4 separate regions of the Homo sapiens genome follow, and regions 1, 2 and 3 are each linked to region 4. The links are contacts of gene promoters, found by promoter capture Hi-C in blood cells and fetal thymus (Javierre and others, 2016). All regions are on one chromosome and are shown on one strand. Each heading gives the region's core, a stretch centred on a gene start or on the middle of the fragment in contact. The rest is flanking DNA. Distances are from core to core; before and after follow the strand shown. Region 1 overlaps GCOM1 (GCOM1, MYZAP-POLR2M combined locus). Region 2 has its middle 35 kb from the start of GCOM1. Region 3 has its middle 19 kb from the start of GCOM1. Region 4 holds the start of ALDH1A2 (aldehyde dehydrogenase 1 family member A2).

Region 1 (7,256 bases), core at 55-2,554, 430 kb after region 4:
CCAGACTGTCTGATTCTAAAGCCTATGTTCATGACCACTACCTGTGGTTTCTCTGTATGACGGCATCTCCCCCAGACCACCCTGCTATGCTGCCGGCTCACCTTGCTTCTTTACGCTGCAGAAAAACCTGCTGCCCAGAGAGAGAGCATCTGAGTTAACTGGGATCTTCTGCTGTTGTAGGAGGACAATAATGTGGGAGGAAGCTCACTCAAGCTCTAGAAAGCTCCCTTGTTGCCCAATCTTCACCACCACCCCCTCTGGTCAATACTAATGTTAGTCCTGACTAAGCCAATCACCTACTCTTCAATAAAAGATGGGATTCTGTTTTCCCAGGGGGTAGAAGGGAGATTGTAATTGACTCTTTAGTTTGCCCAAGTCTCTCCCAAGTAAAAAGCTAAAGAGCTAAAACGAAGCACCCAGTGAGCTCTGAAGCTCCACAGAACTGAATTTCATGCAGTTCCCATAGTGGCGACACCTCGCCTTATGAGGGGACAGTACAGGGGCTTATGCTGCAAACACCATTAGCTAAGGCGACCTCTTCTCAGCATCACATGAAGCCTGACAGTGACCTTGCTCTTGCTGCCCCACCTCTGCCTCCATCATCAGATTGGAGATTCTTGGCATCCCGAATGAGTCACAGGGTGCTAATAATGTCAGGGTCTTGGCAGGTCACTGCTCTCTGCAAACTCATATGCAGCCAGGGAGCCATTCCCAGAAACCAGCCACAGACTTGGCCCTGAACTCCTGGGTCCAGAAGTCAGCCGTCACCTGCTAAAGGTCACCCATCCTTTCTCTTCCTTCTCTTCCTTCTTTTCCTCTTTCCTTTCTCCCACCACTTCCTCCCCTTCCTCCACTTCCTACTTAATTCCTGGCCTCTTCCCTTTCACTAGACAGGCTTCATTATCCCAGCTGAGCTCCCGCCTTCCTCAGGTTCCCCCACCACACTCACCAGCCTGCTTACAACACCTAGAGAAATGGGGCCTCCCTACTCTCTCAAGTCCCCAGCGTGTCAAGGAAAAGCCAACCCTTGAGACACATGCCCCAGAAACAACAGGGCTGCTGTGTTGATGTAACACCTAAATAGGGCTTGATAATTCAATGGATAAACTAAGTTCACACCTGGGGCACCAGCAAAGCAAGGCTGCTAAAATATTAATTTTTCTAAAGAATTTCACAAGTAATATTTTTTAAAAGCATCAAAATAGTTATCATGGGAAAAATGAGAACGTTGTTGGACTTCCTTATACTTTATTTTATAGCTTTGTCTTTTTTTTTTTAATTGCAAATTTTGGAGGTGAGAGGAATCCATATCCAGGGCCTCTCGTATCTCAGATGGACCTACAGGGAAAAGTTTGGGCAAGTGGGCAATAGGCCCAACGCTGTGTCCTACCTTTTCCATGCGCTCAATCAGCCTGTCCAGCTCCCCGATCCTCTGGTCTTTCTCCTCTAGGCTGATCTCTGCTGCTTGCATCTTTTTATTGGCTTCTTCAATCGCTTTCAGAAAACTATTGGTTTCTTCCTGCAAAAGAAATATACCCTCCTAAGTACAGGCATGGAGTACCGAGGCTACTCACCGGGATCCAATCAGCTCAGGCCTTGCTAGATCACGATTTCTCTTTAAAACATGACCTTGGAACCTGAAAGTGTCTCACAGATCATGAACTCAACCTCACGGTTCTGGTTCTCACCTATGAATAAAGATACATCATGTGGCTGGTTAATGGGCCTCACTACATTTTTTTCCCTTTTTTCCCTTAAGTCTTTATATCCAAAAGGTGTAAAAGAGGCCTACAAATGTTTAATAACATTGAGTAGATGCTCAGAATGTCACTGTATTTGCCAGAAGTGTAAGGGAATTAGAACCAGATCTGGAATTGAATGCAGAATTCCCAGATCCTTCTCCCATAATGCAATACATCAGCTCATTACTAACAAGAAAACCCAGTCAATCATCAGAACATGTATTAAGCCTCTACGGACACAGATGAGCCAGACATGGAGTCCCCGCCTTCAGGAACTTATAATCTCCTGGAAAAGCCAAGATGTGAGACGCACAGCCCCACTCTAATGGCAGGTATAAAAGAATTCCAAAGTAAAAGCAGAGAGAGAGTGAGTGAGCTTCCTAAGGACAGATAATGGTTCTGGCTCCATGACTGGAAGAGACTCCAGGCATGGAGAGAGTGGCATTTAAGGCTTTTAGGGAGCTTAGGCAAGATCAAAGATAGGGAAGGAGGAAATTTCAGGTAGAGAGAACCAAATGGAGGGAGGGAGGGCACAGCTGCGGGCAAGCCCAGGGTTTGCTTAGATGCTGGCAAATTGTCAGATGAGCTAGAAAAAGGTGTGTATTTAGAGACAGAGACAAGGGGCTATTCTGAGTAGAGACGGGGATGAATAAAGGCAGAGGGGAAGAGGGGAGGGGAGTGAATGAGCAGATGAATAATTCCTTGATCCCTTACCCATGGCTGAGTCTACTGACCCACCTCTAAGAATAAACACTACTACGTATACATCACCAACAATAATGAACCAACAATTCCCGGTAAGTTTACATCGGCAGCTACAACACACACACCAAAAGAGCCTCCTTCTCAGCACTGTGCTTCCTCTGTTCTTCCTGCAGCTTCTCCTCATACTGGCTGTACAGCTTCTTGGTCATCTCTCGCATCACCTCAGCATTGGCTTCTTGGGACGATTCCACCTACAACGAGACTCATTTCAGAACGACAGCTTTTGCAGGGCCCAGAGGAATTGGCAGCTTCCACTGCACATTTCATGTGGGGACTCACAGAGGTAGTGAGCCCATCCACTGGGTTCTGCAGCAGAGAGACACAGCAAGACCTAACAGGGAAAGGGAGGAAGAGGGGTGAGCAGAGCCACAGAAAAATAAAAGTGGCATTTCACACGAATTTTGGGGGCATTCTCAGGACAAAGGTATGCTCCACATGAGTGACTTTTTCAAAAGGTAGAAACTTATTTCTCTACGCAATCTCATCAGTTGCATTGGCCAAGCCAGTTTCTAGGTAAGACCAGCTAAGCTCAAAGGAGAAATCTGGACTCACCCTTTCCATACCCTTGTGCTTTCCTAAATGTTGCTTTTGGAAACATTCCAACCTAGCATGGGGAACACTAAGCTGGCACCCCTAGTACTGAAGCAGGCCTGGCTTAGGAGGTGAGAAAAAGTCAGTGGAGTTGCAGGTGGGCAGGGCTTAGGTTGGTGGTGGCTGGTGCCTCCTGTTTGCCAGGCCACGTTCTCACACACAGACTTCCCGCCATTGATTTTATGCTGCAGAAGGTTTGCTCTCATCCCCTCCTTCCAGGTTATCGCCTATTGCAGAGAGCTGAGTTTGCTGCATACCTAAACTCTGGAAAAGGGAAGCATTCTTCAAACTCAATAGGTTACATGATGTTATTTCCAAGATGTGACAAGTCTCTCTTGACGCCCTTGACTTCTCCCTTCTCATCACTGGGTAAGTGTTGGCACCAAGAAGTTCCAAAGTGGAAAGTCCTGAGCAGAGCTTATGACCAGCTGAGAGAGACCCTGTGTGCTGTGTGCTCCATTTGCAGTGCACGCACAGCTTGCTGGAAGGGCTCTGTCCCTGGAGGCCCATTCACTCTGCATCCAGGTCATGTAACATACCCTGAGTTCCTGAAGCTTTTTTTTTTTTTCCCAATTTGGGGAGTAAAATAGGAGGAGTAGGAGAAACCTTTTTAACTCCACTGTCAGGATGAAAACAAGCATCAGTCTCTAAAACAGGCAACTGTGGGCTGGAGTTAAAGGCCTGGACTCCAGGGAAGCAGCCAGATTGCCAAGCAGCCTAATGATGTCCCCAGATGCCTGGTGACAGGCCACCTCTGGAACCAACAGGACTGAACAGGACACACACATAGAGTAGACACTCAATAAATATTTGTGGACTGAATGATTGAATAAATCCCCTAAGCTGAAAAAAATTACTTAAATCAGTAATTTCAGGCTTTTTTAGCAACATAAACTTTTTTCACCCCCCAAGTAACTCTTACTGAGAAAGTAACTCTTACACGGAAAAGAAGAGCTGCCCTATTAGAAGTGAACATACAGAGGAGATGATCTGTCCCATGGCTGTGGCAGGCCAAGTGAACTGGCAGCAGATCCCCAGGGCGGCAATACAGAGACCGGGCGGTGGACCGGCAGCCCCTCTTCCCCACCCAGCCTACCCCTGTGAAGGGGCCCACACTTCCCAGTTTGTCTCCCTAACTAAATTACCAATAGTACCACCTTTCACTCCCTCACATATTCTGCTTTGAGCAATAAACTATGTGGATACGCTACTCATAAGATAGCCTAAGTCTGTGCTGAGCAAAATTTTCAAACCACAGACTTACATAAAAAGGAATTCATCCAAGATATAATTTATTAAGTGCCCTCCAGGAGCCATTCATGGATCTGCTCCTGTCACCGGGTAGGAAGTCTATCCACAGTTTAAATTTGGGAGGGGCACTAATGCCTCTAGGGCATTAGAAGTTCAGCTAAGGAATGCTCCCAGCCTAGGGGGCCAAATGGGACATTCCCCAGTGTCCCTAGTCACCCACCAATTTTCTTCTTGAGAATATTGTACTTGGGGTACAGCCCAAGTACCAGCTATTTGTGTGCCCCTCAGCTCTTTATTGTCAAGCCAAACAGAAAGGCCTTGGGACCTCAAAGAAAATCTAAACAGTGAAGGAAGAGATCTCCAAGGCTTCTGACGTCCCAGATCTGTGGGCATCCCAAGCGTCTTCTCAGTTACATAACAACAGCACCATGGTGAGTGTCTAAAGAGCCCTTGAAGGGACTGGAGGCCAAGAAAGGCATGCCCAATGGGGGCATTTATGGAGAAGCCCCAAACTGGGCCAAGCACGGTGGCTCACGCCTGTCATCCCAGCACTTTGGGAGGCCAAGGCAGGCGGATCACCTGAGGTCAGGAGTTCGAGACCAGCCTGGCCAACATGGTGAAACCCCTTCTCTACTAAAAATACAAAAATTACTGGGCAAGGTGGCACGTGCCTGTAATTCCAGCTACTCAGGAGGCTGAGGCACGAGAATTGCTTGAACCCAGGAGGCGGAGGTTGCAGTGAGCCATGATTGTACCACTGCACTCCAGCCTGGGTGACAGAGTGAGACTCTGTCTCAAAAAAAAAAAAAAATCCAATGAAGAAGAGAATGGAGAAAAGGAAATGGAAAGGTTGAAGATGGGAAGAGAAAAGGGAGAAGTAAAGAGGAGAAAAGTTCATAGAAAATAAATCTAGGCTTTTATACTCCACCTTCATTTTTAGCAGCTGGTTTTCAACTTGCGCTACCTCCAACTGCCTCTGCTTTTCCCTCAGCTTGTCCATGGATGCTTCATACGTCTGCTGCAGATTTCTGATTTGATCCTTAATGTTGCTGTTTTCCAAAGTCACATCCACGAGGGTTTTCTGTGAGGATGAAAATAAAAACAAAACCAGATCCGGTGGCGTGAAAACACATGGGCTGCACCACATGCTGGGGCATCCCCTTATCATTAAGCACTGGGGTAGCTGTCCTAGGCTACAGCAACTGCCAGTCTGGGACCCTGTGCTGTGAGGGACTGTGGGTCTCCCATGGTGGCCAAGAGGTCTGCCCCTGTAGCTTGGAGGGACTGAAAACCTCTCCCATACCATCCCATAGCTGCTGCCAACACCACTTGCCACTGCTTAGGATGGATGGAAATGGATTAAAATGGAGTCCTTCCAAGGAAAAGTATTATAATACATCATTTCACATGGGAAAAAAAACAGCTTTTGAAAATAGTAAGTATAGTATAATCCCATTTTGAAAAATATGTATAAGCATTGGTTCAAATATATGTTTATGCACTGGGGGGAAAAAGACCAGGAGGAAATCTGAATGATAGTTTTCACTATGTGATAGGGCTATGGGTATCTATTTTCTTATTTATTTTTTCTGTATTTCCCAAATTGCCACAATGAAATCAGAAAACAAAATACGAGCTTTATAGAATAGAGATATTCCTCTTTTTATTCTTTTTCTTTTTTTTTTTTTTTTTTTGTTTTTGAGACAGAGCCTTACTCTGTCGCCCAGACTGGAGTGCAGTGGCACGATCTCGGCTCACTGCAACCTCTGCCTCCCAGGTTCAAGCGATTCTCCTGCCTCAGCCTCCCGAGTAGCTGGGACTACAGGCGCCTGCCACCACGCCTGGCTAATTTTTGTATTTTTAGTGGAGATGGGGTTTCACCGTATTGGCCAGGCTGGTCTCGAACTCCTGACCTCGTGATCCACCTGACTCGGCCTCCCAAAGTGCTGGGATTACAGGCGTGAGCCACCACGCCCGGCCTCCCTTTTTTCTTAAAAGAGCTATCCCTTCTGCGCTTCTAGACTGCCTGCCAGGATAGTGACAATGTGACTGAGAATACTCACATACCTGCAAACATTTCACCTTCCTCCCTTAGGCAGAGAAGGGTAGTAATAAAGAAGTACTAAGGAACAGAATTTGGTAATGCAGACAAGTGATTTTTGCTCCAAGCCGCACAAGTAATTTTTGCTCCAGGCCGCACTGAAGCAAGGATGTTTAAATCAATAGTGTTGGCCATGCGTGATGGCTCATGACTGTAATCCCAGCACTTTGGGAGGCTGAGGTGGGAGGAGCACCTGAGCCTGGAGTTCAAGACTAGCCTGGGCAACTACAAAAAAAATTTAAAAACCAGCTAGACATGGTTGTGTGTACCTGTAGCCCCAGCTACCCAGGAGGCTGAGGCATGAGGATCACTTGAGCCTAGGAGGTCAAGGCTGCAGTGAACTATATCACACTGCTGCACTCCAGCCTGCGCAACAGAGCAAGACCCCATCTCTAAAAAAATAATAAAAAAGAAAAAGAAAAAAATGGTGGTGCTATTTACTGCTTTGGTTTCTACTTGGTTAACTCTCCTTAGAGATAAATGGCCTCCACAGAATCTGTGCCGTTGGAAAGTCATCTTCTACTGTGTCCCCAGTCATCTACAATTTCACATTAGAAGATGTGAAAACCCTGGTGTTGGGCACTGTTTCTAACACCTCTGTGCTCTTGTCTAGATGATCAGTCTCTGAAGCTTCCTCAATTCCTCAGCCTCTACTTTGGACAATATAAGCCTTTCACTCCTAAACCTACTTGAATCAAGAAAAAGAATTTCTGAAGGAGGTGATTAGATACTAAAGAAAATACTGAAGCTATTTGGAAGCATGGAGTCACAGAACATTTGAGCTTCAAGGGGCTTTAGAAACCACC
Region 2 (6,227 bases), core at 1,500-3,999, 510 kb after region 4:
CATATGTTTAGAGTTTTGACCACTGTGGACCTGTTAGGGAAGAGAGATGCACTGAGCCTGACAATGCAGCTGGGGGTAGGGTGCCCTTTAAAGAGAACCAGAAAAGCAGTGGGAAGCCAGAGGGCGAGGGATCCAGGAGTCCCCGAGAAAAATGTACAAGAAGCAGAAGAAACAAAATAAACTAGAAACAGTGACTGCCTCTGAGTAGAGCCTGGAGAAATGAGCGCCAAGGATGGAAGACTCACTTTTCATTGTTTTACCCTCCTGTACTATCTGCATTTATTTTATGTGCTACTCAAAAACCACACTAGACAATAAATAAAAAATTAAAAAGACTCACAAAACGACAATTTCTAAAAGAAACTTCACTAACAATATAAAAAGACTGCCCTGATGAAAGAAAGATTAGTCTATTATTCGGGAAGAAATGTTAATAATCAAAGCTGAGGGGAGAGAGAAAGGGAGAAACTGCCACATTTGTAATTTCTTGGGTCTGTACAAACTAGTAAACCCTTCTGAAAAGCAACTTGGGAACTGTATTAGTCCGTTCTCACACTGCTACAAAGAACTACCTGAGACTGTGTAATTTATGAAGAAGGAGGTTTAACTGACTCACAGTTCTGCAGGCTGTACAGGAAGCATGACTGGGAAGCCTCAGAAAACTTGCAGTCATGGTGGAAGGCAAAGGTGAAGCAAGCACATCTTCACATGGCAACAGGAGAGAGAAAGAGGGGAGAAGTGCCACACACTTTTAAACCATCAGATCTCGTGAGAATGATCTATCACGAGAACAGCATGGAGGGAATCTGCCCTCATAATCCAGTCGCCTCCCACCAGGTGCCTCCCCCAACATTGAGAATTACAATTCAACATAAAGTTTGGATCACAGAGCCAAACCACATTAGGAACTTTTATAGAGACTTAAAGATGTTGTCTTTCCTCTTCTCTTTCTGGTCATCTAGCCAAAGCAAATTATTTGAAAGATGAAAAAGCTACAGATATAACAGTATTTGATGTAGGAAGGCAGAATTCCAAATCCTACACATTTGTTAATATACAAATAGTATTATAGTTAACTGATGACAGAATTCACTCAATGTGATGTGATTTTTAAGTGTATTTTTAAAAAGCATTTTTAAAAAGTGATCAAGATTATCTAATATCTATAATGTTAAGTGACAAAAAAAGCATATACAAATCATATAAACACTGCAGTTGTACCTATGCTTTAAAAACTGTGTAGGAAAAAAAGACTGGAAAGAAATGAGCCAAAATGCTAATAATGGTTGCATCAGTATGGTGGGGTTATTTTCCAAATTTGTAGTAATACAGTTACCTTATTCTATATAGAAAAATAAATATGTAAAGGAAGTAATGAATCTTTTCAATCTCACCCCCTGCCAAGCAGGAACACACGGGAGGCCTCTTGGCAAGTTGAGGTGTCATACCATTTCAGGACCATCCATCTAGGAAACGCGTACCTAAGAACACCCACCACCATGCATGCCTCTAGTTCCAAAGTGTTCGAAGAGCTACTCCCAGGATGTAAGGATTCCAGCTCCTGGGTTGAACTTAAAAGTTTGCTAAATGTAGTTCATACTCCAATCATAAAGGGTCCAAATGGGATATAGCAAAATGAACAAGGCAACTACCCCAGTTAGCCCAGGGATGTGCGAGCACCCCTCTCACCCATCCAACCATCCAAAGAGGACTGCGAGCACCATGACCCATAGCGACAGCAGCCAGGGAAGAACAATGGTCAATTCCACAACAGAGTTGGGCGTTTCAAGGGATGAATGAGTGTATTAATCAAGGATCCTCAAAGGATAGAACCAGTGGGTGTGTGTGTGTGGAGAGAGAGAGATTTATTATAGGAATCGGCTCATGCAGTTAGAGGCAGAGAAGTCTCATGATTTTCCACCTGCAAGCTGTAATTGAGTCCAAGCCCAAAGGCCTAAGAATGGGGGTGTGGGGGGGCGGGTAGCAGTGATTGCCTAAGTCCCATTCAGAGTCTGAAGGCTGGAGAGCAAGGAGCGCTGATGTCAGAGTGGGAGAAGACGGATGTCTCAGCTTAAGTAGAGAATGAATCCTCTATTCCCCCACCTTTTTGTTCAGTGAGGGCCCTCAGCAGATTGGACAGAGCCTGCTCACAGTGGGGAGGGCCATCTGCTTTACTCGTTCTGCCGATTCAGAGGCTAATCCCTTCTGGAAACACCCTCACAGACATACCCAGAATTCATGTTTTACCAGCTATCTGGGCATCCCTTAGCCCAGTCAAGTTGACATCTAAAATTCACCATCACACAGAAGATGCCACCACCATTCCACAGGGGACAGAGCTGGTGAGACCTTGGTCTTTGTGAGCCTGAAACTAGACATGTGGCCACCCAAGGAAAGCTGAAAATGCCACCCCCAAAACAGGCCAAGAATTCAGTGTTCTTTCCAATCAATATTCTTTAGTATTTATTCTCCATACTGGAAGGACAAGGGGAAACAGTGTTCTGGGGTGAAAATGGAGAACGAAGTCCTCCGGGGCAGTTTTTGGTGTTCCTCTTTTACTGTTTAGGCCTGGTCAGCTCTGGTCCCAAACTTGGACATCCCAGCTCAACCAAACCTCACCCTGACACTACCTGCCTGGGTCCTCTCCTTACAGTGCAGTTCAGTCACTGTGCCATTGATCAGGTCAGCCCTTGGGGTCTTACCACTCCCCGGTGTGGCTACTAAGGTACTGACTTCCTTTAGACTATTTTTTAAACAATGCACCCCTAATTACACTTGAGATATTTTAGAATCTTGGTAGAATTTGAGCACCCTACAATATAGCTCCCAGCCTGGCCTGCCCTGGCTCTGCTCCACAGTGTCCCCCTGCCAGCCTTCCCCGTACCCAAAGACTCTGCTGTCTGGATTCCACTACAGCGACCTTCAGTTTCTAACTGAAGGGGGTGATCTTTTGTTTTAAAAAACTGCAGGGCATTTGTGTGAGCAACCCTCTCACCCATCCGACCATCCAAGGAGGGCTGCGAGCACCATGACCCATAGCAACAGCAGCCAGGGAAGAACAATGGCCAATTCCACATCAGAGTGTCTTGGTTGTTCTTCCAGGTCTTCAAACAACTGCTTTTAAGAAATTTTTGCCCACCTTTTCTAGTTGTTCCCAGAGGAAGAGTTCAGTTTGATACCAGCTACCATGTCATGCCTGAAGCAGAACTCAACTCCTTTTGAAGCGGATGGCATATAAAGCAATCAGTATTTTAAAAACTCAACATTCAACACTTAATTTGCCAAAAAAAATGACCATAAAAAAATAAAAACAGCCTTTCACTGCCTGACTGCCGCCGTCACGGGTCACATTCATGTGCCCGGGAAGGGCCTGTCCCAGTCGGCTTTGCTCTATCACCACAGCGTCCCCACTTGGCTGAAGTTGACATCTGACAATGTGAAGGAGCAGATTTACAAACTGACCAAGAAGGGCCTGACTCCTCCACAAATCGGTGTGATCCTGAGAGACTGACATGGTGCTGCAAAAGTGCGTTTTGTGACAGGCATAAGAATTCTTAAGTCTAAGGGACTTGCTCCTGATCTCCCTGAAGATCTCTACCACTTAATTAAGAAAGCAGTCGCTGTTCAAAAGCATCTTGAGAGGAGCAGAAAAGACAAGGATGCTAAATTCCTTCTGATTCTGATAGAGAGCCGGATTCACCGTCTGGCTCGATATTATAAAACCAAGCGAGTCCTCCCTCCCAGCTGGAAATATGAACCATCTACAGCTTCGCCCTGGTTGCATAAATTTGTCTATGTACTCAAGCAATAAAGTGATTAAAAAGAAAAACAAATGACTAAATAATCTACATCAACATAGGCCTCAAAAAAATGTAATTTTGAATGTAAAAGTCAGAGTACTATATACAAGACGCTGAGATGTATATGACATTTTAAAACACACAAAACATACTACATGGTGTTCATGGATGCATACACGTAAAAATAAAATTGAATAGAATACCCAGCAGATTTGAGAATAGTGGTTGCCTTTGGCAGGGAGTGAGGGACAAAAAGAGAACTTCAATTTTATCTGTAATGTTTATTTAAAAATGTAAAGCAGACAGATATGAACAGCTGTTAACCACTGTTAATTCTTGGTGGTGGAAACATAAACAAACCAAATCCCTCCATTGGAAATGCCCAGAGATCAGATGTCAAGCCTTGTTATCTTGCCTATTTCTTCCTTCCTCTCATTTGCTCCTCCCTAAATGTCCATGTTGCTGTTGTTGGTAGCAGAGTCACTGTGACTAAGTCCACAGCTGGCTTAACATCTGCCCAGCAGGCTCTGGACACAGGCTGGCACTTCTTAGAAAGCACACGCTCCACATGATGACCAGCGCAGGGGTGGAGGAGCGCTATGCTTCCAGCCTGCACCCCTCTGACTCTCTCACAGGGAATAACCAACCCTGGTTATCTGGGGTGCATCTAACCTTTCCACAGGGCCTGGGAAGGCCACGGGACTTTAGTAAGCCCCAAAGCAACTTGCACCTTGATTTTAGAATCCAGCAGCCGTGAAAATACAGACAAAAGAAAAAATTTTGCCATGAAGGGGAGGAGGTAGTAGAGTGAGTTATTCATTCTCTGCTTCAGAAAATGAACTTAGTTTAGAAAACCATCCATGTGTAAGTCAGGAACAAGCACTGCTTAGGAAGGCCAGAGCTTTGGATCCTACCCAGGCTGGAGGAAGCGGCAGGTTGAAAGGAGGCCAGGTCTGTTTTCTAGTTCTTCATTATCTAAATACAAGCAGCAGCTTCCCCAGGAAGAACAGACAGAGACATGAGGGAGCCGGAGCCCCAGAGGGAGCTTGGGCACCCATTTTACAAATCCCTCGCTCTGCAGGGAGTCCTATGCCTGTCTCCAAAGAGCCTCATTATTCATGCCCAACGATAGGCAGGGACGGATGAAAGGCGAGGCAGCCCCAGCCACGGAGAGAAGCGAGCAAACCAAGGAGCTGGAATGGCAGCCTTCCCGGCCCTTTCCAAGGCAGCAGGGCCTTTCACTGGAGGCAGCTGGCTTATCTTAATCTCCAAACCCTTTCCTGGAAAACAAGCCCATCCTAGAAGGGCCAGAGGCCCAGAGGTAGCTGGAGTCAGTGAGTCAGGCTGGCAGCACGCAGCAGGTGGCAGGGGGTTTTGCAGAAAGGAGAGGCAGGCCATCTGCCTTCCCTTAGAGTGGGCCTCAGGCTGCAAGCACAGACTTGCAATCCAGAAGCCCAGCCTTTGTGCCCAGTGTCCTCAGCTAGGGAAGCCAGCAGTGACTATTTCAGAGGGGCAGCAGGGTGAGAATGTACAGGGTAAGGGTGAGAATGTACAGGGTGAGAATGTACAGGGTAAGGCCACTCTGGGTGGTTAGAGTGACAGACCTGGGACTTTAGCCACTTTAGCTACTAGTTGGGTGACCCTGGGCAAGTTACTGATCTTTACACACATTTCCTAACACATGAAAGCGGGTAATGCCACCTACCTCACAGGGTGCAGATTAAATCAGATAAAGTGCAAAAGATTCTTGGCCCGTAAGGTCTGCCCAATTATGGCTTCTGCCCTGTTAAGTGATCTTAGGCATTAGTAAAGAACCATTCCCGCTGCCCCAAAATACTACTGAGTCTGTTCCCATAGTAAAGTTTTACAGTCCCTGGGAGGGGTCCAGAGGAGATGCCCTGGATCTGTACGTGTGGCAGGGGCACTACCCACCACCTGCACACACAACCCTTCCCACCTCCAGCCCACCACACACTGCGCCAAAAGGCTGGTCCTACTTCCACAGCTGTAGCCCTGCTACTCATGGGAAAGGCTGGGGGCCCAGGCATCTGCCTCCTTCCAGATGAGCTCTGCACATGCCCGTAAGTCCCAAAGCTTGCTGTAACCCACAAGGTTTCTCCCTGTCTGGACACAGGTCAGCCTCCTGCCCACTCACAGGGAGGCAGAGCCCATTCCCACTGGGACCACTCCCCTGGCTTGGCAGAGACTATGCTGCCACCTCCAGGAAGACAGCTCACTGCTGCGAAGCCCAGGTTTCCAGCCTCCAGCCCAACACCCAGTACTCGGGCTAGAGGTCTGATTAGGACTTCAGTCGACAGTGTTCTGTTGGGGACAGTCTGCTGATTTCAGGTTGCAAGTGCAGTTTTGCATGTGAGACTAACACGTAATGTGCACCACACGACGATTATTATTATTATGGTACAGCGA
Region 3 (6,656 bases), core at 2,058-4,557, 490 kb after region 4:
CAGACCAGACACTATAGAAAGCTTTGTCCACATTCTCTCATTTTATGTTACACATGTCTATGTACATATATACATATATATTCTATCACATCCTTCCAATAAGGTAGATGCTCTCATAAAGTCAATGTTGCCTCCCTGAGCGTGGGAGCTGGAGCCAGCGGCTTGAGTGGAGGGTGATATGTTAATGCACCAGGAGGGGCCCAGGCACCTGTAGTCTCAGGAAGGGTAAAGAACTGGTTCTGAGAGTGGAGCAATGGCTTGCAGAGCTGCACATAACCTGAGGAATTAGTGGTTGCCGCTCTGACTGTGAGTTCTCAGAGATGGGATAGTTTGAAGCATGGTGCCTTCCAAGCTGAGGAGGAAGTGGGGCTGAACAAAGGGCGAGGGGTTTGGTCACAGGGCTGTGACAGCCATGACAGGTTGCTCATCATCCCCAGTGGCGACATGATGGAAGTCTTCCAAATCTCAAAATTCTATGAATTTCAAGGGGATGGACATGTCGAGGACACATCCCTGGAGGAAAGTGAAGGGGAACTCCATCACCTACCAACCAAATGTGGAGACGGAACATGCAAGAACCAGGACCCTGACGAATACAATTGCTTCTGTCAGTGGTTCCCAAACTCTCCATTGCCAAGGACATCTTTCAGTCACACTCGCTATGAATAGCACATTTGGAAAGTTTTTGTCTATCCAATTACATTTTAATGAGTAATTAATTTGTTTTCAACATTTCTATTAATCAAGGAGATTAACAATTGCCAATTAGAGCTTCTAACGAGCTGAGACCACCAACCTTGCCTGGCTGGATTGCTGTTGGCCCCAAGCCAAGAAGCAATGATCCCATCAGCCAAGGCAGCAGTGCTTGGGAAGCTGTACATTTTCTTTCCGTCAAGCTTTTCAGAGTAGCGGAATGGCCTGCAGGTCCCCATGAGAACATCACCAGGCCCAAAGGGTGCATAGAGCCTTGTGTCAGGAATCATTGTCCTCATCTTGTCCCCCATGGCCTGGGCCGTCTTGCCAGCAGGCAGAGCAGAGGGAGGGGCAGCTATAGGTTGGGCCAGGATTTGCATCCCTGAAGGACAATGTGGTAATTAACATTAAACAGAGGCTAAGATATTGAGATTTCATACGCATCTTTCCCCAAATTTCTAAAGTTGTGCCAAGACTGTGTGATTTTGTTCTTTTCAATAAAGGCAATCTGTTAGGTTTAGAGTCTAGAGGGGAAAACCAAAAGAACGTGAGCCATTTTTGTAATTTTAATCTTTCTAATAGCCATATTTATTGACAATAAAAGGAAACAGGTAAACTTGATTTTACTCATATATTTTATTTAACCCAATATATTGAAATATTATCATTTAACATTAATATTATGTTACTAGTAAAATAGTAATGAGATATTTTACATTTTCTTGTACTAAATCTTCAAAATTCATCGTGTATTTTACACTCAGGTCATTTCAATGTGTACTGGCTACAATGTGAGCACTCAATAGCTGCAGGGTGGTAGTGGTTACAAAGCTAATAAGAAGAGGAACTGGAATTGGGACCCCCAAGGGGGAACTGGGACCCTGTTCCGACCTCCAAGTCAGTTCTGTCCCTGCTGCTATGCAAGAACTATTTTTGTTCCAACACAAGTAAATGACTTCTCTGAAGATATCCTTAAAGCTTACCCAGGCCAGCCCCCCACCCAAGGTGGAGGGGCCTATTGATGTGGCCTGGAGTTCACGGGAACATCATAGCACAAGATAAACTCGCTCAAAGAAGACATCAGGGCCAAGATGACAGACTTCAGGGCTACTCGCTCTGTTGCCCAGGATGGAGTTCAGTGGCTCAATCACGACTCACTGCAGCCTCAACCTCCCTGGGCTCAGGGGATTCTCTTGCCTCAGCCTCCCAAGTAGCTGGGACTACAGGCATATAGCATCACACCTAGCTAACTTTTGTATTTTTTTGCAGAGAAGGGGTTTCGCAAACTCCAACTCAATTAGATGAATTCTGGCTCCATAAGAAGCATGTGTTTCCCACTGGGGCCTCCCCTCCGACCTTCCAGAACTTGGCACTCAAACTAGGTATATCTTATCCCTTCCCCAAGTCCCTGTCTAGCTGCTCTATCCACGTACAAACTCAGAGGCTATTTTCTACCATGCAGACTGGGATTCAGAGGAAGAACCTGACACAGGCAGGGGAAGCAGAGGAAGCAATGGGGAGAAAGAACTTGCAGGGTTCCTGCAATGTCCCCATCCCTGATTCAAATTCCCTGTTCGTGGGCTCTGTGAGACATCCCTCCAACCATAGAACAAGTTCTTTCTGCCACTTGAGGTCATCTCAGTGAGTTTTGGATGATTGCAGCCAATTGACCCTAACAGCTGGGCCTCACTCAGAGGCCCAGGAGTGGGCTCCAGTTGAGCAGAAGCCTGCGGCCTTATTTCTGCTTCCTCTTCTAGATGGCAGTAGGGCCACCCCAGTTTGTCCCCACATCCCATCAGCATTTCTGAGGATTTTGTTCAGTCGTATTACAAGTTTACTGGGGTCCTGCCATGGAGGACCTAAGGCCTCTGTGGGCCTCTGTCCTGTCTACTCCACATTCAGAGCCCTGGCTCTCTTCCTGTGAGTCCCAAGCTGCCCATCAAGTCTTCTCTGATCCCCAGTTGGAACACATGCTCCTTCTGCATTCCCACCCCTGTTACTGCATCCCAGGCTTCACCGTTAAGCTCCTACTTCCTTCTGTCCTCGCTTTCATTGGAAAGCTGATTGGATAGCCAGCTTCCTCACTTAGTTGTGGGTAAGGACAATATTAATCACCTTTTATTTTCTCAGGTTTCTCCCCACACATCTCCTTCCCTGTGCCTACGAAGTAGTAGGTGCTCAAATGTGTTGACTGAAGGAAGGACAAGATGAAAGGAGAAAAGGAGTGAAGGAGGAAGCAAAGAAAGGACGCTTCAGCCACTTAGTTAAAGTATAAGATAACATCTAGTGTAATTCAATTCTAGACCAGACTGCCTGCAGGAGAACCTCACCAAGAGGAGCCAGCCAGCAAGGGAATTGCAGCCTGCATGGTGCAGACAAAACAGCCCCGGAATGGCATCTTTTTCAGGGAAATCAAAAGGTCTTAAGCAGCGAGCTCCCATCATTCAGATCCTGAATGCTCTAAGGGGATCATACAACTGCAATTCACTTCTGCATATGCATCTATTACGGTGTTCACATCTGAGTGCAGCACAGAAACAGTCTTTTTTTGTTGTGTTTTTGTTTGTTTGTTTTGAGATGGGGTCTCACTCTGTCGCCCAGGCAGGAGTGCAGTGGCTCAATCACGGCTCACTGCAGCCTCAACCACCTCAGGCTCAGATGATCCTTCTGCCTCAGACTCCCAAGTAGCTGGGACTACAGGCACACATCACCACACCTGACTAATTTTTGTATGCTTTGAAGAGATGGGGTTTCACCATGTTGCCCAGGCTGGTCTCAAACTCCTGAGCTCAAGCGATCTGCCTCCCTTGGCCTCCCAAAGTGCTGGGGTTACAGGTGTGAGCCGCCACACCTGGCCCAGAAACAGTCTTTAAGAGGGATGTGGATATTCAAGAATTGAAATTTAGAGACTCAGAAAATGGACCTAATGACAAACAAATGTTTTTTGAGAGCCTAACTGTTTCCAGATGCTCCACTGGACACTGGGAATCCAATGGTCAGCAAAATAAGCACGGACCATACACATGTGGAGTTTGTAGATTATTGAGTCAACAGCACACATCAGAAATTGACTCAAAAAAATTAAAATCTAAAGGCAAATAAATGTTAAGCAATTATTTTGAGAGGCAAAATTGAGATAATAGAATAAGGTTTGGATTCAGACCAGAATTGGGTTCAAATGCTGATTTTGCAACATTTAATGAAAAGAAGACAAAATTATACACACACATGGTTTTAAAAGTCCAGTGGTTCTACAAGTTTATAATGAAAATTAGCACCCTCTTGCCCCTTGATCCCCATTGCGTAGTCACAGCCACTTTTAACTCTTTAAGCTATTTCTTCTGGTATTTATCATCATATATTTCAATTACACACTTATATGGCCATATCTGGATTTTGTTTAAATTTTAGATCCCATCTAGTGACTCTCCATGTGGAAACTGAGGTTTTGGTCTCTTAAATCTTCCTCCCACATGCCCCCTCATTCTTCAAATACAGCTATATCGTAATTTTGTTTAAATCAATAATCACGGCTTATGCTCTATGACCGCGTGATCATCAGTCACAGGCCATGAAGTGCATTTTATAGTAATATTTTCTTTCGTATACAACTTTTTGTTTTTCCTGAAGCTAACAACTATCACCTTTTCTCCACTTATTTAGCTTTTTATGTATTAATACTTATCACTAAGTCATCACTAGCTTTCCTTCAAAAGTGACAGTGTGTCACATGACCAAACTCATCCGGTCATATGTCAACAGCATTTTTTTTCTGGAGACAGCCTCCACCTCCACTTCCCGGAAGAGCTCTCTAAACTCCTGCTCCAGCCTGGACTGGTGGGGCTCCAGGCAGCCCCATGGTGCCATCCTGGGGCTTCGCTTGCCATCATCCAGGGTGTCCTCTGGGCATTATCTCCTGGGATGCGTTACCTGCTTCCTTTATCTCATGCTGTCCTTTTTTTTGGATAATTCCCTCATTTTGGAGGAATATACCCAAGGGTAAATAGGAATTAAGGATTTCAAGACATTGTATTTCTGAAACTGTCTTGATTGATAGTTTGGACATGTACAGGATTCTAGGGATAGAGAAGTAATTCTCTCTTAGAATTTGGAAGGCATTGCTGCACGGGTTTTGGCATCTAATGTTGCTTTTCTTGAGAAGTCTGATGCCATCCTGATTCCTGATCTTGCCTTGCCTCCCCCTACAGATTTTAGGGCCTTATCTTTGTCTCTGATGGTCTGAAGCTTCATAATTACAGTAGTGCCCCCTTATCCACAGTTTCCACAGTTTCTGTTACCTGTGGTCAACCACGGCTCAAAAATATTAAGTGAAAAATTCCAGAAATAAACAACTCATAATTTTTAAATTGCATGCCATTCTCAGTAGCGTGATGAAATCTCAAGCTGTCCTACTTCATCCAGCCCAGGATATGAATCATGCCTTTGTCCAGCTCTATATGCTACCTGCTCGTTAGTCACCTAGTAGCCATCTCCATTATCAATTTAACTATTGCAACATCTCAGTGCTAGTGTTCAGGGAACCCTTATTTTACTTAGCAATGGTCCCAAAGCACAAGAGTAGTGATCCTGGCATATTGTTATAATTGTTCCATTTTATTATTGTTGTTGATCTCTTACTGTGTCTGATTTATAAATTAAACTTTATCACAGGTTTGTATGTATAGGAAAGAAAATGTTGTATATATAGGGTTTGGTACTCTCTTGGTTCATTTTGTGTTGCCATAATGTAATACCTCAGGTTGGTTAATTTATGAATAAAATAAGCCTGTTTGGCTCACGGTTCTGTAGGCTGTACAAGCATGGCACCAGCATCTGCTTCTGCTGAGGGCCTCAGGCTGCTTCCACTCATGACAGAAGGTGAAGGGGAGCCAGCATGTGCAGAGATCACACAGCGAAAGAGGAATCAAGAGAGAGGAGGGGAGGTGCCAGGCTGTTTTTCACAACCAGTTCAATTAGGAACTAATAGTGTAAGAACTCACTCACCCCCAAGAAAGGGCATTAATCTGTACATGGGTAATCTGTCCCCATGACCCAAACATCTCCCATAGGCTCCACCTCCAGCATTGGGGATCAAATTTCAACATGAGGTTTGGCATGGTCAAACCTCCAAACTACAGCAGGTACTATCCGAGGTTTCAGGCCACCACTGGGGGTCTTGGGACACATTTCCCAGGGATAAGTGGGGGCTGGGCACATGCATTGTTGTGGGTGTTTTTCATGCATTGTGCTTGGCACTCTGTGGACCTTTTACATATCTATAGATTCACGTCTTTCAGAAATGGAGAAATTTCTTGAATTGCGTCCTTCTCCCTTCCATATTCTCTGTTCCTAGTCTATGGAACTCCTTGGACTGATCCTCTAATTTTATTATGTTTTCTCTCCTGTTTTTCACCTCATTTATGTTATTACTCAACTTTCTGGATAATTACTTCAATTAACCTCATTTTCTAACCATTAAATTTAGTTTTTCTTTCTGCTCTCAACTTTGAAGTTCCAAGGATCATTTTGGTTCTCTGCTATGCTAACCTCTTGTGCTTGTCTATGTAATCTCTGAAGATGAATCAATCACAGGACTTTGTTGTTGTTGCTATGGTACAGGTTTCTTGCTGCTGCCCAGATTGCTTGTTTCATCCCTAGTTCCTTGTTTTGTTTTGTTTGTTTTTGTTTTTGTTTTTGTCTATGTCTTTGATATTAAGGACTTCTCTCAAATGCCTGATGACCCTTGACTGTTCGCTCATATTTCAGAGTGAGGCACCCAATAGTTGATGGGGTGACATTCATCAACTATAGAATTCACCAGAGGGTAAACCACTGAGCAGTTTCACCAAGGTACTCCCAACCCTCAACATCTTTTAAATTCTATGCCTGAGCTGCCAGACATCTTCCCTAGAAAGGAATCCTCGAGGCTCCTGCTTGGAAGAGATCAACCTGGCTGCCAGTGC
Region 4 (6,496 bases), core at 3,392-5,891:
TCAGGAAACATTTCAAATAAAGTGGCCAGGCATATCCCATTTGAGATGAATGAGATCATTAGGAAACACTTATATCTGAAATAAGCACTGAGATCATTCTGCATACAACCTGAGGGCCCTAATTTTTTAAATATTTCAAACAATGTGCCTCTTTCAAATCATTAGATGTAGAGACATTTAAGGAACTGATTCAATTAGCCCAGAAGAGGGGAATGCTATAATGTGTGATTTATTTTTGAAGATAAATTAAAATGCAAGTGTATCTGTTAGGAAAGGTAGGCTGTCATCATGGTTAGTAATGGGAACAGGAAAGCAATTAAGCAGGGCCACCTGAGGCTGAAACAGCCCCTAAACATAGAAACTTGACATTCAAGCTGGACATTCGGTTACTGTCAAAATCAAGTGCATCTTCTTTGAGAGGGATCTTTGAGCTGCATTTAGTTCCCTTCATTGATTTCTAAAGACTAGTTCTCAACTTAACAAATACTTTCCTCCCCTTAACTGCAGCTAACAAGAAACCTAAACTGTTATGGTTTCATAACTTAAAGTCAAACTTCACATAAAGCTGATGCCTTAAAATTACAGCTTTGCATTCTATTATTTAGGTGAGGAAATATGAGGCAAGAATTTATTTTTCTCCTCTGCAACTCCAGGATATTGGCTCCACCAGGCCTAATAAATTGTTTTCATAAGGAAATAAATACAGCATGCTGCAGCTTAGGTTCCCTTATGCAAGGGGTTTCAAACAAGATGTATCCTAAGCAATAAATAATTACAGAATGGGGGGGGTGGGAGGAGAAACACTGTAAAGGTGGGAAAAAAACAGTTTCTTAGCCAAATTGGGGGGAAAAGGCTGAAATTCAAATTGTTAGAAATCTGAAGGTAGTTGACTGTCTTTTTATTTTTAGAGACAGGGTCTCACTCCATCACCCAGGCTGGAGTGCAGTAGCGTGATCATAGCTCACCATAACCTTGAACTCCTGCTTCAAGCGATTCTCCTCTTTCAGCCTCCTGAGTAGCTAGGGCTATAGGAATGCACCACCACGCCTGGATACTTTTTTTTTTTTTTTGGTAGAGGCAGGGTCTTGCTATGTTGTCCAGACTGGTCTTGAACTCCTAGCCTCAAGCAATCCTCCCACCTTGGCCTAATTACGGGTGTAAACCACCGCATCTGGCCAAAGACTGTCTTCTTAACTATTGTGAAATCTGTAGAGGATATGAGAAAACACTAAAACTAGATGATAAAAGAAAGAGAAGAGGAAATAAGAATGTGAGAAGAGGTGTTAAGGCAGCCTTGGAAGTAATAGCCTTGTAAATCTTACAAACTGAAACCAAGAAGATGAACACCAAAGAAGCATTTATAATTCACTGTTCTTTTCCGCTACATCTTGTCCCTACCTTGATTTAAAAAGCTTGAACAACAGCCGGGCATGGTGGCTCATGCCTGTAATCCCAGCACTTTGGGAGTCCGAGGAGGGTGGATCAGTTAAGGTCAAGAGTTCGAGACCAGTCTGGCCAACATGGTGAAACTCCATCTCCACTAAAAATACAAAAATTAGCTAGGCATGGTGGTGAGTGCCTGTAATCCTAGCCATTCAGGAGGCAGAAGCAGGAGAATCGCTTGAACCCAGGAGGCAGAGGTTGCAGTGAGCCGTGATCATGCCATTGCACTCCAGCCTTGGTGACAGTCTCAAAAAAACAAAAAAGGGGGCTTGAACAAAAAGTGGCTGCTGTCACGAGCTGAATATAGACAAAATATATATCTTTTTTGGCCAGATACAGTGGCTGACACCTGTAATCCCAGCACTTTGGGAGGCCGAGGTGGGTGAATCATGAGGTCAGGCATTCGAGATCAGCCTGGCTGACATAGGGAAATCCTGTCTCTATCCAAAACACAAAAAATTAGCTGGGTGTGGTGGCAGATGCCTGTAATCCCAGCTACTCGGGAGGCTGAGGCAGGAGAATCGCTGGAACCTGGGAGGCGGAGGTTGCAGTGAGCCGAGATCACACCATTGCACTCCAGCCTGGATGACAGTGCGAGACTCTGTCTCAAAAAAAAAACACAAAAAAACAAAAAAACACCGATGGGGAAAAGCAAAACGAAGTTTAAGATCAAGAGGAGAAAATGTTCTTTAATCAGGCAGTGAAGGAAGTTACTTTCACTTACGGTGGAAGTTGTCAAAAGTGCTCTGTCTTTTGCTCAAATCAACCAACAAAAATTCTTATTAAATAGTTATTATGTGTTCTACGCTGTTTTAGGAACTGAGGAAGGCACAAGGGAGACAGGCTGGAGTGCAAGATCTCCTCTCACTACAACCTCCACCTCCTGGGTTCAAGCGATTCTCCTGCCTTAGCCTCCCGAGTAGTTAGAATTACACGCACCTGCCACCAGGCCCAGCTAATTTTTGTATTTTTAGTAGAGATGGGGTTTCACCATGTTGGTTAGGCTGGTCTTGAACTCCTGACCTCAAGTGATCCACCCGCCTCGGCCTCCCAAACTGCTGGGATTACAGGCATGAGCCACCGTGCCCAGCCTCTATACCTTTTCTATAGTGTTCTTTTTGCTCTTGTTGAAGCCTCCCTTCTCCCTTAAGACCCAGCCAAAGGTCAGCTTTCCCAGGGAGTAGGCGTCCTCCTTGGAGCACTCAGCTCATGTTGTTATGGCTCTTTTTCATGTTTTCCCCACAGCCTCTCATAACTAGTGATAAGTTTTTCCACAGGTATCACTGTTCCCCCTTGCTGGAACCCTCTCTTTCTCCCCAATGAACTCTAAGATTTTACTTTTTTATTTCTCAATTGTATCTCTAACCTTCTAAGGCTTTGATAAAAGTATATCTTATGAGCATACACTGTTATTAAGTCATAATTTTTGGCCATAGAAATTCCCTGAGTACAGATCCCTCGACTGCCCAAGCTAAGGTCTGTAGTTTCTCCATGAAAACGATTCACCCAGGTCACTTTGGGTTCTGAGAGGCTGGAACTTATTTCTATAAACCTAATACTAAAATGAAATATTTTTGTCTGTTTTCACTATTGCTTAGCATCTGAGCGCTGAGCATTAGGCAGTTTTAGTTACTCAAAGTATCTAAGGAAAGATGTTTTCTGGCTGATGCTTAATGTTTTCTTAACGCCCAAGAAATGGGACTCCAGCGGCTCTAAAAATGGCATTTAAGATGAGAATCAGGCCGGGTGCAGTGGCTCATGCCTATAATCCTAGCACTTTGGGAGGCTGAGGTGGTAGGGTCACTTGAGCCCAGTTCAAGATCACAGTGAGCTGTCACGGTGCCACTGCATTCCAGCCTGAGTGAAGGAGTGAGACCCTGTCTCTTCAAACAAAACAAAAAGACGAGAATCACAGTGTTGCTTGGTAGTGTAGAAAAAGCGTTTATCAACACTGTAGGCCCCTGTCAAGCTTACATTTGGAGTGAGGAGTAAGGAAGGGAAGGGACTTATGCAGGTCTTTCCATGCGGCCTTGATTTAGTCCACGGAGTCCAAAGCCCATTCTGAGGCAGGGTCTCTAGGTTCTTGGTTTACACCTGCAGGCCGATCCACAGACTAGAGGGCAGCTTGTTAGACTTTGGAAACACTTAGATTAGGGGGGAGATGGAAACTCAATCCCAAAGGGACAGTAAAATGAGCCTAAGGTCTGGCGGGACGATAGCTCTTAGCGTGTAAGGAACAACAGAAAAACAAAATAGTGTTTCTGTGGGTGTGCTGGGTGAGGAGGGGAAACAGCCGGAAGAGGGGATCCGAGAAGAACTAAAGGAGCCCACGAAGCATGCAGCTCCTCGGAGGAGCCGGGGATGATCACTGCCCATATCCTCCCGCCACAGCGCAAGCCGCCCGGGCGGTCCCGGCCGGCAGAGGGCAGCAACTGGGCGGGCGACGCCTGGCAAGGGCCGCCCCGCGCTGACCCGCTCGCAGGGATCCTCATTCTGAGCCCGAGGCGAGGGGGACTCGCACCCACTGCCACCTCTCCCTGACCCTCTGGCCACCATGCACCTCGGCCCGGCTGAGGGGAGTCGGGGGGTCGGGGGAGAGGGCGTAGCTGCCGAGAGCCTGGCGCCCCTGCCCGGAGGAGGAGAACGGAGGACGCCCTCCCGGGTCTCCGGAAAGGAAGGGGGACGGGGTTCGGTGGGTCCTGGGACGGGGATGGGAGGGAACGTGGGCGAGCTGGGAGCCGCCCTCCGCAGCCTGGACTTTCCTGGCCTTTCTCTACTCCGAAGCAGCACCGGGCCGCTCCGGTCCCCGCCAGCCCCTGCCAGCTCCGCTTCCGGGGGCCACGACCCTCGCTCGACTTCGGCCGCTGTGCGCCTCCCGCCGACTCTGACCCAGGGACCCGGAGACCAAGTCCGGCTGGCCGAGGCCCGCGGGCCGCGGCGCAAGTTCCGCTCCCACCGTCGAGGACTGTGGAGGCGGCGTGGGCTGGTCTCCGCGGCCGGGGGGCGGGAGCGCCGGGCGGACTTGACCGTGGGCGCCAAGCGTCCCGGCCGCGCGGCGCGGGCTTTATGTAAATGGAGGCTGCGCCGGGCGTCCTAGGTAGGATGGACCAGCCCCCCGCGCCTCGGCCCTCACGTCCAATAAGAAGAGCCCCAGCTTGACACCTGCCTATATACAGGCGAGCGCGCCCCCGGGCCGCGGACCGCGCGCACAGCCCGCACTGCCCCACGCCGCGGGCTAGGGACACCCGGCCCGCCACCATGACTTCCAGCAAGATAGAGATGCCCGGCGAGGTGAAGGCCGACCCCGCCGCCCTCATGGCGTCGCTGCACCTCCTGCCGTCGCCCACGCCCAATCTCGAAATTAAGTACACCAAGGTAAGCGGCCGCCCAGCGCCCGTCGTCCACGGAGACTTTCTAGAACCTTCTTCGGTTTCCCCGATCTCTTCAGCGGGTGAGGGCTGCGGGACGGGGCCGGGGTCGTCGGGGCCAGCCTGTCATCCCGGCGCAGCAGAGGGACCCCCTGCCTGTCTTCGGGACTGGGGCGTTTGAAGCCCCGCCGTGGTCTGAGGACGCCTTGGGGACTTAACCCAACCCGAAGCGCAGCGTTGAGGGGCAGCCGTCAACGGCTCCTGCCCCGGACTCTGAGGCTGGTTTCTGTCCGATTCTCCCGGTCCCGACTGCCGCGGGGGAAGGCGTCGGAACCGCTTAGTATCCTCAGATGGAGGCCGGGGTTCCCCGTCAGCTTGGCCACGCAGCCTGGCCGTCGCCTCTCGGTCCTCCGCCTTCCGGGCCCCTCGGCTGTTGGTCCCAATCAGGTCCTCCACAGCCCGGAGGGTGCTGAGGGGCTTTCCCGTAAGGAATTGTCAAGACACCAGCGCTCTGGCCGGTTTGACAAATTTCACGGAAACCTGACTGATAAGTACAGTAACTCCAACGTCAGCGTTTCATGTGAATTTTGTAGGCAGCGGCAGTTTCCCTGGGAAACTTAAAAAGTTTTAATATTTGTTAGCATGTTCGGTTTTGAACTGAAGAACTTACTTTTTTTTTTTTATAACGAACGTTGACATCTTGGGTTTGCTAAGCAGGATTTTTGTTGTTGCATCGCCTAAAAAAGAATATGCGTCTGCTACCTAATATAAAATGAATTTACTTTCCACAAATTCGACATAGAAAAAAAATGATCGATTACAAACGTAGGGGTATTGTAATGTTACAACATTTTGAGGGAGGTGGTGAGAGAGAGATGGGATTGAAAACCACGTTTCTTGGAGTTCATTTTGTAGTTCTCTGGTTTGATTTTCTAGTCCTTTCGGTACATTTCTACACTCAACTTCTCCCAATTAACGCAAACGCATAGACGCACATGCATATGGTTAAAGGTTGATTAAAGATGTATTCCATCGTGCTTTTTTACAAGATAAATTTTGTAGAGAAGTAAATTGTTTGCATCTGGCTTAGTGGTTGAATGAGATATACAAGAAACAACATCAGAATATTGAGATTTTACTTGCATTGAGTTTTAGGTTACAAATCAGGGCGATTTGTGTTTTGAATGTCGATTTAGATGGATTTAATGTACCTGCTAGCTTTTTTAGATGGTGTGACAAATTTTTCAAAGCCGTTTTAATGAGAGGTCGTTAATGGTTATAACCTTTTAGGCATTGTTTGCATAACAATAGTGCCAATGTGTGGCACTTGTCTGGGTTTAGGAACGAGCAGGGAAAGCATGCAGCTTAGAAGTTTTATTTTATGAGGGTCTCTAACCTCTTCAGGCTCTTTTTAAAGGTCTTAAAATGGAAGATCTACACAGGAGAAAAGACCTAACCCTCAGATTTGGGAAGGTTTGATTTTAGTCTTATTTTTGATGGGATTTTTCTAACAGCCTCTGAAAGAAATTTTAGGTATGCAATAGGTACGTTTTTCAGAATTTAATTTGGAAGCTCTTCCAGTTCTCTTACTCCCTAACTACCCCCTCTCTCTTTTCTCTCTTGTTCTCCCCCAGTAGGAAAGACAACTGATTTATAGCTAATTGGAGCCTTTAATGTGGAGTCTT

What was found. Contacts are between HindIII fragments. The CHiCAGO score rates a contact against its expected background, and 5 or more counts as called.
Region 1: a contact is called between a fragment that was not itself captured here and the fragment with the promoter of ALDH1A2 in region 4, in 1 of 17 cell types (endothelial precursors). The highest score is 5.2, in endothelial precursors.
Region 2: a fragment that was not itself captured here is called in contact with the fragment with the promoter of ALDH1A2 in region 4 in 7 of 17 cell types (fetal thymus, M2 macrophages, megakaryocytes and 4 more); the score reaches 15.2 in fetal thymus.
Region 3: a fragment that was not itself captured here is called in contact with the fragment with the promoter of ALDH1A2 in region 4 in 2 of 17 cell types (M2 macrophages and fetal thymus); the score reaches 5.4 in M2 macrophages.

The regions. Positions count from the first base shown.
Region 1 is chr15:57,627,876-57,635,131 of GRCh38, reverse strand. GCOM1 (GCOM1, MYZAP-POLR2M combined locus) reads right to left here. Exons shown (of 17, transcript NR_104371.3): 6 at 5,278-5,430; 7 at 2,573-2,698; 8 at 1,391-1,519. It overlaps MYZAP (myocardial zonula adherens protein), which reads right to left. Exons shown (of 13, transcript NM_001018100.5): 6 at 5,278-5,430; 7 at 2,573-2,698; 8 at 1,391-1,519. Among named protein-coding and RNA genes, the nearest start is that of MYZAP, 40 kb to the right of the region's middle. The HindIII fragment of the contact is 4,701 bases long and covers 1-3,654 here.
Region 2 is chr15:57,553,496-57,559,722 of GRCh38, reverse strand. It overlaps the pseudogene RPS13P7. Among named protein-coding and RNA genes, the nearest start is that of GCOM1, 35 kb to the left of the region's middle. RefSeq lists an enhancer at 5,035-5,610. The HindIII fragment of the contact is 6,295 bases long and covers 1-5,896 here.
Region 3 is chr15:57,569,693-57,576,348 of GRCh38, reverse strand. No RefSeq gene overlaps it. Among named protein-coding and RNA genes, the nearest start is that of GCOM1, 19 kb to the left of the region's middle. The HindIII fragment of the contact is 3,267 bases long and covers 1,674-4,940 here.
Region 4 is chr15:58,063,856-58,070,351 of GRCh38, reverse strand. ALDH1A2 (aldehyde dehydrogenase 1 family member A2) reads left to right here and starts at 4,641. Exons shown (of 13, transcript NM_003888.4): 1 at 4,641-4,818. The coding sequence starts at 4,702. ALDH1A2-AS1 (ALDH1A2 antisense RNA 1) reads right to left here and starts at 5,127. Exons shown (of 3, transcript NR_147215.1): 1 at 4,610-5,127; 2 at 3,418-3,537. RefSeq lists a silencer at 3,786-3,975 and enhancers at 4,584-5,103, 5,104-5,623. The HindIII fragment of the contact is 8,256 bases long and covers 3,415-6,496 here.